Linked DNA regions of Homo sapiens: region 2 is linked to region 1. The links are contacts of gene promoters, found by promoter capture Hi-C in human tissues and cell types (Jung and others, 2019). All regions are on one chromosome and are shown on one strand. Each heading gives the region's core, a stretch centred on a gene start or on the middle of the fragment in contact. The rest is flanking DNA. Distances are from core to core; before and after follow the strand shown.

What was found. The method cuts DNA at HindIII sites, captures the fragments that hold promoters and counts their contacts. A contact is called where the count stands out against the background at its distance.
Region 2: a contact is called between a fragment that was not itself captured here and the fragment with the promoter of LEPROTL1 in region 1, in 1 of the 25 tissues and cell types used here (spleen).

Annotation. Positions count from the first base shown.
Region 1 is chr8:30,092,992-30,097,917 of GRCh38, reverse strand. It overlaps LEPROTL1 (leptin receptor overlapping transcript like 1), which reads right to left and starts at 2,510. Exons shown (of 4, transcript NM_015344.3): 1 at 2,390-2,510. The coding sequence starts at 2,405. RefSeq lists a silencer at 2,203-2,662 and an enhancer at 4,778-4,926. The HindIII fragment of the contact is 5,830 bases long and covers 1-4,926 here.
Region 2 is chr8:29,368,637-29,373,562 of GRCh38, reverse strand. LOC105379349 (a long non-coding RNA gene) reads left to right here and starts at 171. Exons shown (of 3, transcript XR_949623.3): 1 at 171-309; 2 at 1,169-1,279. The HindIII fragment of the contact is 8,265 bases long and covers 1-4,926 here.

The DNA.
Region 1 (4,926 bases), core at 1,261-3,760:
GATTCCTTAAAAAAAAAAAAAAACCAAGGGACTAAAATGAGATAAGGCTCAGGTATCAAAAAACAATTTTAAAAACATAAACCAAGATTGTCTTATTGTAAGTGCTATGAATATGAATACTGGAATAACATTTGTTTGGGGGAATCAAGATACCTTGAGATAATACTTCTACTCCATTAAATACTAAATATGTGTGTGTGTGTGTGTGTGTGTGTGTGTATATATATATATATTTTTTTTTTTTTTGAGACAGAGTCTCACTCTGTTGCCCAGGCTGGAGTGCAGTGGCGTAATCTTGGCTCACTGCAACCTCTGCCTCCCGGGTTCAAGCAATTCCCTGCCTCAGCCTCCTGAGTAGCTGGGATTACAGGTGCCTGCCACCATGCCCAGCTAATTTTTTTGTATTTTTAGTAGAGATGGGGTTTCACCATCTTGGACAGGTTGGTCTTGAACTCCTGACCTCATGATCCATCCGTCTCGGCCTCCCAAAGTGCTGGGATTACAGGTGTGAGCCACCGCGCCAGGATTAAATACTAAATTTTTTTTAAATATTCATAACACAGTTTGATGTGACATCTCATCTTCCAGTCATACCGAATAAGGTAGCCAATTAGAGGTTAAATAAATTGCTTAAAAGTGTTCTCAAAACTTGCAGTTTCTTCAATCTTATGAAATTGGCAACTAGGAAGATTTATATATACACTTCATCATTTGTATATAAGCTGTTTCTTAAATGACACATCAACAAGGCAAGAATTCATACAGTAATTGAGTGATGCAACATTTGGAAGACAAAGCTTAGATAAGTCTGGGTTCTACTCCCAAAGCCTCTAGGCTAGGCATGGAGCAGCCCAATTATCTAGCAAAACTCTCTAGAGACAAGATGCTGATTCTGTGATTACAAAGAAATTAGAGTAGAAGGAGGGACCACTTCTCTAACCTGGGAGTTACCAGAAAATCCAATATATCAAAAAGTAATAGACAAATGGCTCAAGCAATGCCTAATGGTCTCTAATTACAGCAACACTCCTTCCTAATATAAAGATATTAGGCCAAGAGAAAGAAACATACTGACTCATAACAACCAGAAAATCCTGCTGAAATCAAAAGTGCAGTTCACCTGAGGCACCTTCATCAGTTTAATGCAGTATTTCCCTAGGTCTGGAGAAGTAAATTACAAAGCTATTTTCTTAAGAGACCCCCGCATTATTGACACTGAAGAAACAGGGAAGAACAGGGAAACGGGCAACATCCTAAAAACCACAGCAATTCACAATAACTGCCTTTCACATAAGGGTTTAGAGTCTATCATAGTTCAAAAGGAGATTACAAAGTATCCCAGTTGCTTAAATGACAAGGTTTTATATGGGAAATGAAATGTTTTCAGACATTGAAAATAAACAAGAAACAGTAAGACTGTGACCCTGAAAAAAAACTCGATTAAGTTTTCCTTAGAGAAGAAAAAATACAAAGAAAACCACTGCTCCCAAAGTTACCTGCTTCCTGCCTGACTGCCCTTCTACAGAGCGGCAGGTCAAGAAATCAATGTAATTAGTTAAGCAGTAGCTGAAAACTTTGCTTCTCATCACACTGACAACAAAACTACCTAACAGGTGGAACAAATGCAACATTCCTTTTTTTAAAAGAAAATACATGAATAAGCCAGTAGTTTTTCATTAAGTTGTACCAGTATTTTATCTTCTTAAAAAAAAAAAAGGAAAAAAAGAAAAATTTTGAAATTTGAAAAAGCCTCAGGGTGCAACTGCGGAGAGGGAAGAGAGCCAGGAGCACTTTGGGGTCGCCTACAGGATCAACTCTAGGGTCCAGACACCGCAGATGAAAATGCACCCGTTTCGGGAGCCTGTAAAGCCTCGGGCGCGGGCGGCCGGGGTGGACGTGGGGTCGAGGTTTCGGGCAGACCCGTGCAGCGCCCGCAGACCGCACTTGTGCCTTTCGGTGGGAAATGACTGGTTTTCCATAGCTGGCATCTCTAGCAGCCTCAGCCTTCTCAATCCCACGCTCTGCCTGCCTCTCTCTCGGATGCAAACTCCTGCAAAACGTGTGTGGCCGTCCAAGTCGCGACGGGACTCCTCACTGACCGCCAACCACTTCATATTTTGTCCGGGGGGCGATGGGTGGGAGAGAGGCTGCCGAAATCGGCAGAAAGTGGGGGCTGCGGGGCGAAGCCGGGGTCGCAACCGTCCGTTGCCCGAGGGCGCCGCGCCCACCTCCGGGCCAAGCGCAGGGCCGGGGCGGGGGTCGCTTCCCCGGCGCAGGGACCCCACGCGCGCGCGCGAGCCCGGAGGGGAAGTGCGGGGGCCGCGTGGGACCCCCGGCCCATCTTCCCCCGCCGGCCCCAGCCCTCCCGCGTCCTGCAACCCAGGCCCACCTTTGATGCCTGCCATGGCGGTGACGTCGCTCCTGGCTCCACGACCCGAGGCGGCGGCGGCAGCAGCGGCAGCCGGGAGACCCAAGACGCGCTACGGCGGCCAGACAACACCCGGAAGTGCGCGACGCAGCACTTCCGCCGGCGACTCGGGCTCGCGCGGGGGCGCGGGGGACGCGCCGGGCTGGGCTGTGGGGTCGACCCCCTGCCTCTCTTCTCCGCGGGTGTGCAGATCGCCGCCGGCCGAGGCTTGCCGCCGCCGCCCCGACTGGGGGAATGAGCAGGCGCCAGGTCTTGAATTCCTGTCAGGGCCGGTCTGGGGGCTCCCTGCTGAAGCCCCTGTCCCTGATCCCGCAACCTCCCGCGTGCGTTGGGAAGGGGTCGCGGGTAGCGGCCGTCCTTTGGATGCACGTGTGATGGCTTTTGGCTTAATTTCACATTGTTTTGTTTGTTTTTTGAGACAGGGTCTCTTTCGCCCAGGCTGGAGTGTGATCACGGCTACTGCAGCCTCGATCTCCAGGGCTCAAGTGATTCTCTCACGTCGGCCTCGCAGTAACTGGGACCACAGACATGAGCCACCATGCCTGGCTTTTTTTTGTTTTGTTTTGTTTTGTTTTTTGTAGAGACAGGGCGGGGTGTGAGACTCTCATCTTGTTGCCCAAGCTGGTCTCCTGAGCTCAAGGATCTGCCCTCCTCGGCCTCCCAAAGCGCTGGGATTACAGCTTGATACCCTACCTTGTTTTAACCTGATTGACTCGCTCTTAGCTGAGAGAGCGGGACAGACTCCATTTTGGTTTCTTCGCTTGCAGCACCTTGTCCCCCTCCCTTAAGGACATAACTGGTGCAGACTGACACCAAGCACATCCAGGAATGTGCTTACTGATAAGATACTGAGGCAAGCTGTACCAGCAGCTCCTGGGAACGCGCTCGGTTGATGGTACCCAAAGCCCCTGCGTTTATCTCTTTGTGATAATTTAAGCCCCATGCACCTGGAACTGTTTATTTTCCTGTAACTGTTTCTATAACCATTTATCTTTTAACTCTTTGCCTGTTCTGCTTCTGTAAAAATTGCTTCAGCTAGACTACCCCTTCCCTATTTAGACCAAGGTATAAAAAGAAATCTAGCCCCTTCTTCAGGGCCGAGAGAATTTTGAGCTGTAGTCGTCTCTCGGTCGCCGGCAATAAAGGACTCCTGAATTAGTCTCAAAGTGTGGTGTTTCTCTATAACTCGCTCGGTTACGACAACAGGTGTGAGCCACTGCGCACATTATTTTACTGCGCCTTTTCCTCTCTCCCTCCATCCCTCCATCCCCAGTCCTATAATTAAGGTTAGTTGGGTGGTCTGCACTTGGCTCCTTGGTTTCCTATACAGGACTAGGGTTCTGGTGAGGACCCACCTCCAGAGATAGGAGCAGCAGGGCTCAGTAAAGGGTGGATTTAATAGAAATCCAGTCCCTTGGGTGGCTGTCTTTTTGGTAGTAACAAGGCAAGGAAAAAAAAGTGAAAGCCCAGGTTCAACACCTTTATTTACACATCCTACAATTATTTATAGAACATTTACTATGTGTTAGGCACAGGGTTAGACGCTGAGATGTGCAAAACCAGGTACTGTTTGCAGACTGGTGAGGAAGACAGACACACAAAAAATGTAAAATTGCAATAATGATAATTGCTAGTAAAGGGGATCAGAATATGTCACTCTAAAATATGCCACTTTGAAGTCTGGTGTGGTGACTCAGGCATGTGATCCCAGCACATTGGGAGGCTAAGACAGGAGGATCGCTTTGGCCCAGGAGTTGAAGACCAGCCCTGGCAACATAGTGAGACTCCATCTCTACAAAAACGAAAAAAAAATTAGCCAGGCTTGGTGTGTGCCTGTAGTTCCAGCTACTTGGGAGGCTGAAGTAGGAGGATTGCTTGAGCCTAGGAGGTCGAGGCTGCAGTGAGCTCTGATTGTGCCACTGCCTGGGCAACAAAGCAAGACTCTGTCTCCAAACAAACAAATAAATGTCAGGCCTCTGAGCCCAAGCTAAGCCATCATATCCCCTGTGACCTGCACGTACACATCCAGATGGCCGGTTCCTGCCTTAACTGATGACATTACCTTGTGAAATTCCTTCTCCTGGCTCATGCTGGCTCAAAAGCTTCCTCACTGAGCACCTGGTGACCCCAGCCCCTGCCTGCCAGAGAACAACCCCCTTTGACTGTAATTTTACTTTACCTACCCAAATCCTATAAAATGGCCCCACCCCTATCTCCCTTCGCTGACTCTCTTTTCGGACTCAGCCCACCTGCACCCAGGGGAAATAACCAGCCTTGTTGCTCACACAAAGCCTGTTTGATGGTCTCTTCACACGGACACGAGTGAAAATAAGGCTAAGGATTGTTTTGAGCTGAAAGCAAATAAGAAGCAACAGGCATAGGAGGAGCTCTCTGCTCTCTCCTTTTCTACCCAAAGGCCGTGCTTAAGTTCCCTTTGTAAAGATAACATAAAGTTCCACTTTTTGTTTTGTTTTGTTTTTCTTTTGAAACGGAGTCTC
Region 2 (4,926 bases), core at 890-3,389, 720 kb after region 1:
AACCACGGTGGGATCCTCTTCCCCACCGGCCGGGACTGCCTGTGGAAAGGGGCTCCGAAAGCCCCCCTTCTGCTAGGTTCCGGCCATCAGAGGCAGCCGTGTGACCCAGGCAGGCAGCTGGCCAGCGGCTCTGCAGTACTCAGGGCTGAGGATGAGTCAGGAGTTCCTCCGCCCTCAGTACTAGGCTGAAGAGGCTGTGACGCGCCCGGTGGCCCCTCTGGGCAGTGGCTGGCAGCAGAAACACACACGCAGCAGACACACTCGGCTTCCTCGCCTGGAGAGCCGGGAGAGAGCAGTCTCTTCTGTTATGTAAGAGACAGAAGGGGGACTGGGGGGCCTGCGGCTGCACAGGGCCTGCTCCCACTCGGCCTTCTTCCTGAGATCCTTTTCTTCCTTTCACTCCAGCGGATGTGATGAGGAGGAGAAGGGAAGCCTCCTGCCGAGAGCAGCTCCATTCGCTGAGCCCCGGCCCCTTACGGGCTACAAGGGCACTCATCTCCCACTCTCCCTGATCAAGGCCACAGCCTGCAGCGGCTGTCTGGGAAGCACCCTTAGCAAGGGCCCTGCTTGCCACACCCCTGGGCAGTTAGCACCCGGCCTGCCCACTCTGCACCCCTGGCGCTGGGGGCCCGCACCTCCCTGCAGCCTCTCCACTTCCTTCCCTTCTCCTCCTCCCCGGGATTTCCATGGTCAGGAAGGATTTCCCCTGGGTAACCAACTGTCTCTGGGTACAAAGAACTGCCTGTGAAGGCCATCTCCCCAACAGCCTATCAGAGCTCACCTCCTGCTCACCCCTGGGCCGGTCACAGAGGCTTGCTGCGTCTCTGAAGGGCTATCCACGGCCCTTCCACCTGTGCACATCAGTGAGCACTGTGGAGGTTTCAAGAGTCTCTGGGGCGAGCCCACCTGAGCTTACCACCTGCAAGCTCCTACCAGAGAACCTCAGGGAGTGACCTAAGCTGTGCGTTCCTCACTGTCCTCATCTGTAAATTGGGAGCAATCGCATGGTCCCCGTCATAGATCTGTGGTGAGGATCAACTGGGTTCGGGTATCACTTAGAACAGCTGCTGGCAGATAGCAAAGGCATAAGAAACATTCACACCTGTCCTCATCCTACCTGCCCTTCAGGGCCTACCTGGAAGTCTCATCTGGTCTTTCTCTTCTCCAGACTCCCAGTGTACTTCCATCTGCAGCACACAGGACATCACAGATTGTCAACGCTGTCACACAGTACTGCTCTGGTTATTCCTCGTGGTTATCTTTGCTCCTCAGGGAGATGGTGAGTGTCCAGCTCCATGGAAGTCCTCTTGAGCTTGCCAGGTACACAGACCCCCTGCGAGTCTCTGTAAACTTGGGCATTCTGTGTGCTGGGCTCTTGATTTCTTGCAAACTGATTTCAGAATTCACTTATATAAATTTTTTTTTATTTTACTTTTTCTTTTTTCTGTTTATTTAGAGACAAGTTCTCCCTCGGCTGCCCAGACTAGAGTGCAGTGGTGTGATCATAGCTCACTGAAGCCTCAAACTCCTAGGCTCCAGAGATCCTCCCACCTCAGCCTCCTGAGCAGCTGAGACTACAGGCATGCACCCCCACACCTGGCTAATTTTTTAATTTTTTGTAGAGACGGGTCTCACCATGTTGCCTAGGCTGGTCTCAAACTCCTGAGCTCAAGCAAACCTCCCATTTCGACCTTCCAAAGTGTTGGAACTCCAGGTGTGAGCCACCACACCCGGCCCACTTATAGGTTTTTTGAGCTATAATCGCCACTGCACTCCAGTCTGGGCGAAAGACTAAGACCTTTTCTCTTTTCAAAAAAAAAAAAAAAAATATATATATATATATATATATGTAGGTTTTTCATATTTTCATATTTAAGTGCAAACAAGCAAGGCCTATTTTTCAGGAACCTATTACGTGGTAAGTACTATGAGGATGAAAAGACTCATCAATATATCTGCTCAGTTCCAGCCAGAAACCTGTGAGTTACCCAGGCCTGCCCTCCGCTAGTCCCCATCTCCAGCAGTCACTGAGCCCTGTGGCTCCCACCACATCCTTCCCCTCCTGAACTTCCTCTCAGCCACTGCCCTCATCTTGGCCCCCCGTTTCTTGCCGAAACCATGGCAGAAACCCCCTACTGGTCTCTCTGCCTCTAGTCTCTAACCCTAAGACCCCAGAAGTATCTTCCCCAAATACAGTTTAGATCCCGACACTCTTTCATCTCACGCACAGGTGGAATCTAAAAAAGTTGAACTCTTAGAAGCAGAGAGCAGAATGGTGGTGACCAGGGACTGAGGGCTGGGGGAACGGAGTGGGAAGATGTTGGTCAAAGCACACAAAATGTCAGTTACACAAGAGGAACAAGTTCAAGAGACCTATGGTACAACACGGCACGATAGTTAAAACAACGTGTATTGTGGTCTTGACAATCACTAAAAATGTAGATGAGTGTTCTCACTACAAAAAGTAATAAGTATGTGAGGTAATGTATATGTTAATTATCTTAATTTAACACACAAGGCATACATACTTTTTTCGGTGTTTTATTTTGTTTTGTTTTAGACAGGGTCTCACTCTGTTGCCCAGGCTGGAATGCAGTGGCGCCATCCTGGCTCACTGCAGCCTCGAACTCCCGGGCTCAAGTGATCCTCCCACCCCAGCCTCCCCAGTAGCTGGGACTACAGGTGCACACCACCATGCCTGGTTAATTTTTTTGTATTTTTTTGTAGAGATGGAGTTTTGCCATCTTGCCCCAGGCTGGTGTCAAACTCCTGGGCTCAAGCGATCCTCCTGCCTCGGTCTCTCATAGCGCTGGGATTAGAGGCGTAAGTAAGCCACCACGTCAGGCTGGCATACACATTTCAAAACATTGTGTTGTACACCATAAATATATACAATTTTTATTTGACTACTTAAATAATTAATTAATTATTTTTAAAAAGACTCCCAGCATTTCCTGTGGTCTCTGGGATAAAAGTTCAATTTCCACACAAGTCTACAACCTTAACAGCCTCAGCCCCCACCTCCCTCCACTGCATGAATTCCAGACATCCCCCATTTTGTGCCTGGACACACTCTCTTTCTTCCACTGAGAACAACTTTCTTCCCTTACTCTACCTGGCAGCCACCACCCTTCCTTTACAACCAACTCAAATGCCACTTCCCTGGGCTTCCACAAAGTTTGTCTCTGCCTCTTCATGCTCCCACAGAACTTAGTACAATCCTGTATTAGAATACCTGCCACTCGGAATTATCATTGTTTGCAGAAGAATTTCCTCTGCTGGGGAGTGGCTAGGCCTTGTTCATCTGGCACCCATCCCTAGCCTGTAGGAAACGATCAAGAAATACAGGAATGACTTCATGCAAATAGCACTGGAAACTCAAGGACTTACCTCCCATTTTTCTCTTGCCATTTTCAGCAATACTGAACAGAAGAGTGGTTTATAATCACTGTCTCCAACTCTGCTTCTCCCATCTTTCTTGAGTCCACCCCAACTGTTTATCTGCACTACTTCTCTCCAAGGGCACTGGTGACCTCCACATTTTTTAACCCAGTGGTCAGACGTCGGTCCTCCTCTTCCACAGTTGATCCCTCCTCTGCCTGGTCACTTGCTCCTCTGGCGTTCTTTCCCATCTGCTCTCATCAGTGGCTTCTCAGACTTCTTTCTAACTCTCCCTCATCTCCCTAAACTCCTAATGTTAGAGAGTTTCAGAGCTTGATCCTGGGGTCTTTTCCCTATCTATTTTTTTTAGAGACAAGGGTCTCACTGCATTGCCCTGGCTGGAGTGCTGCAGCACCATCATAGTTCACTGTAGCCTGGACCTCCGGGACTCAAGTGATCTTCCCACCTCAGCCTCCTGAGTAACTGGGACTACAGGTGTGCGCCACTATACCCAGCTCTTTTCTCTCTTCCATCTGCACTCACTGTCTTGGTTATCACATGCAGATACATGACATTAAGTGTTATCTCTATGTGGATTATCCCCAAATTTACGACCCCTGCCTATTCTCCTCTCTTGAACCTAAAGCTCCTATGTGCAACTGTACACTCCACGTGACCACTCCACCTCTCAAGCTTGTTCAGCTGAATTCCTGACCCTCCCCTACCCTCCCCAACACCTCTTCTCCAGCAGTCTTCCTCGTGTCAGTGAATTGCAGCTCCCATCTTCTGGCTGCTCAGCTCAGACATCTTAAGTTAGCTTTTGGTTCTTTTTTACTCTTAAGACCTCACCCCCATCCATCGCCAAATTCTGTCACTCTACCTGCAACTTATCTGCAGACCTGGCTAGTCTCACCTGGACTGTTTCAGCAGGCTCCCAACTGGCTTTCCCACTTTGGCCTTTGTCCCCTACAGTCAATTCTCAACATGGTGGCCTGATTGATCCTGGAAAATCCAATCCAGCTCATGTCACTCTTCCGTGCAAAACTCTCCAAAGGCTTCCATCACCCAACGGCCAATGAAGCCCCAGGTGATCTGGTCCCTACCGCCTCTCTGGCACCACATACTCCCCTTCTCTCCCTCCTGGACTCAGCACCAGCTACTTTGGCCTCCTTGCTGTTGTTCAGACAGGCCAGGCACACTCCTGCTGAGCTGACCATTGCACACATGGTCCCCTCAGCCCAGCATGCTTCCCAAAGGATGCAGGACTCACTCCTCCACCACCTTCCAGTCTTCCCCAACCACCTTTATAATATTTGTAATTTACTTTAAAATACTTCAGTACAATCAGTAGGACATTATGTATGTGCCAGCTCACTGAAGCTTTAATTCTAGAGCCGGTCAGCCAACATGCAATGGAGAAATCACAGTTCAGCTGGCCCTCAAAAGACCACCCTCCAAAAGCTGCTAAATCTGAAGTTTCTATCATCTGCATCTCAAGCAACAACCAATACTTTGCTAATTAACACATTAAATTTTTTTTAAATG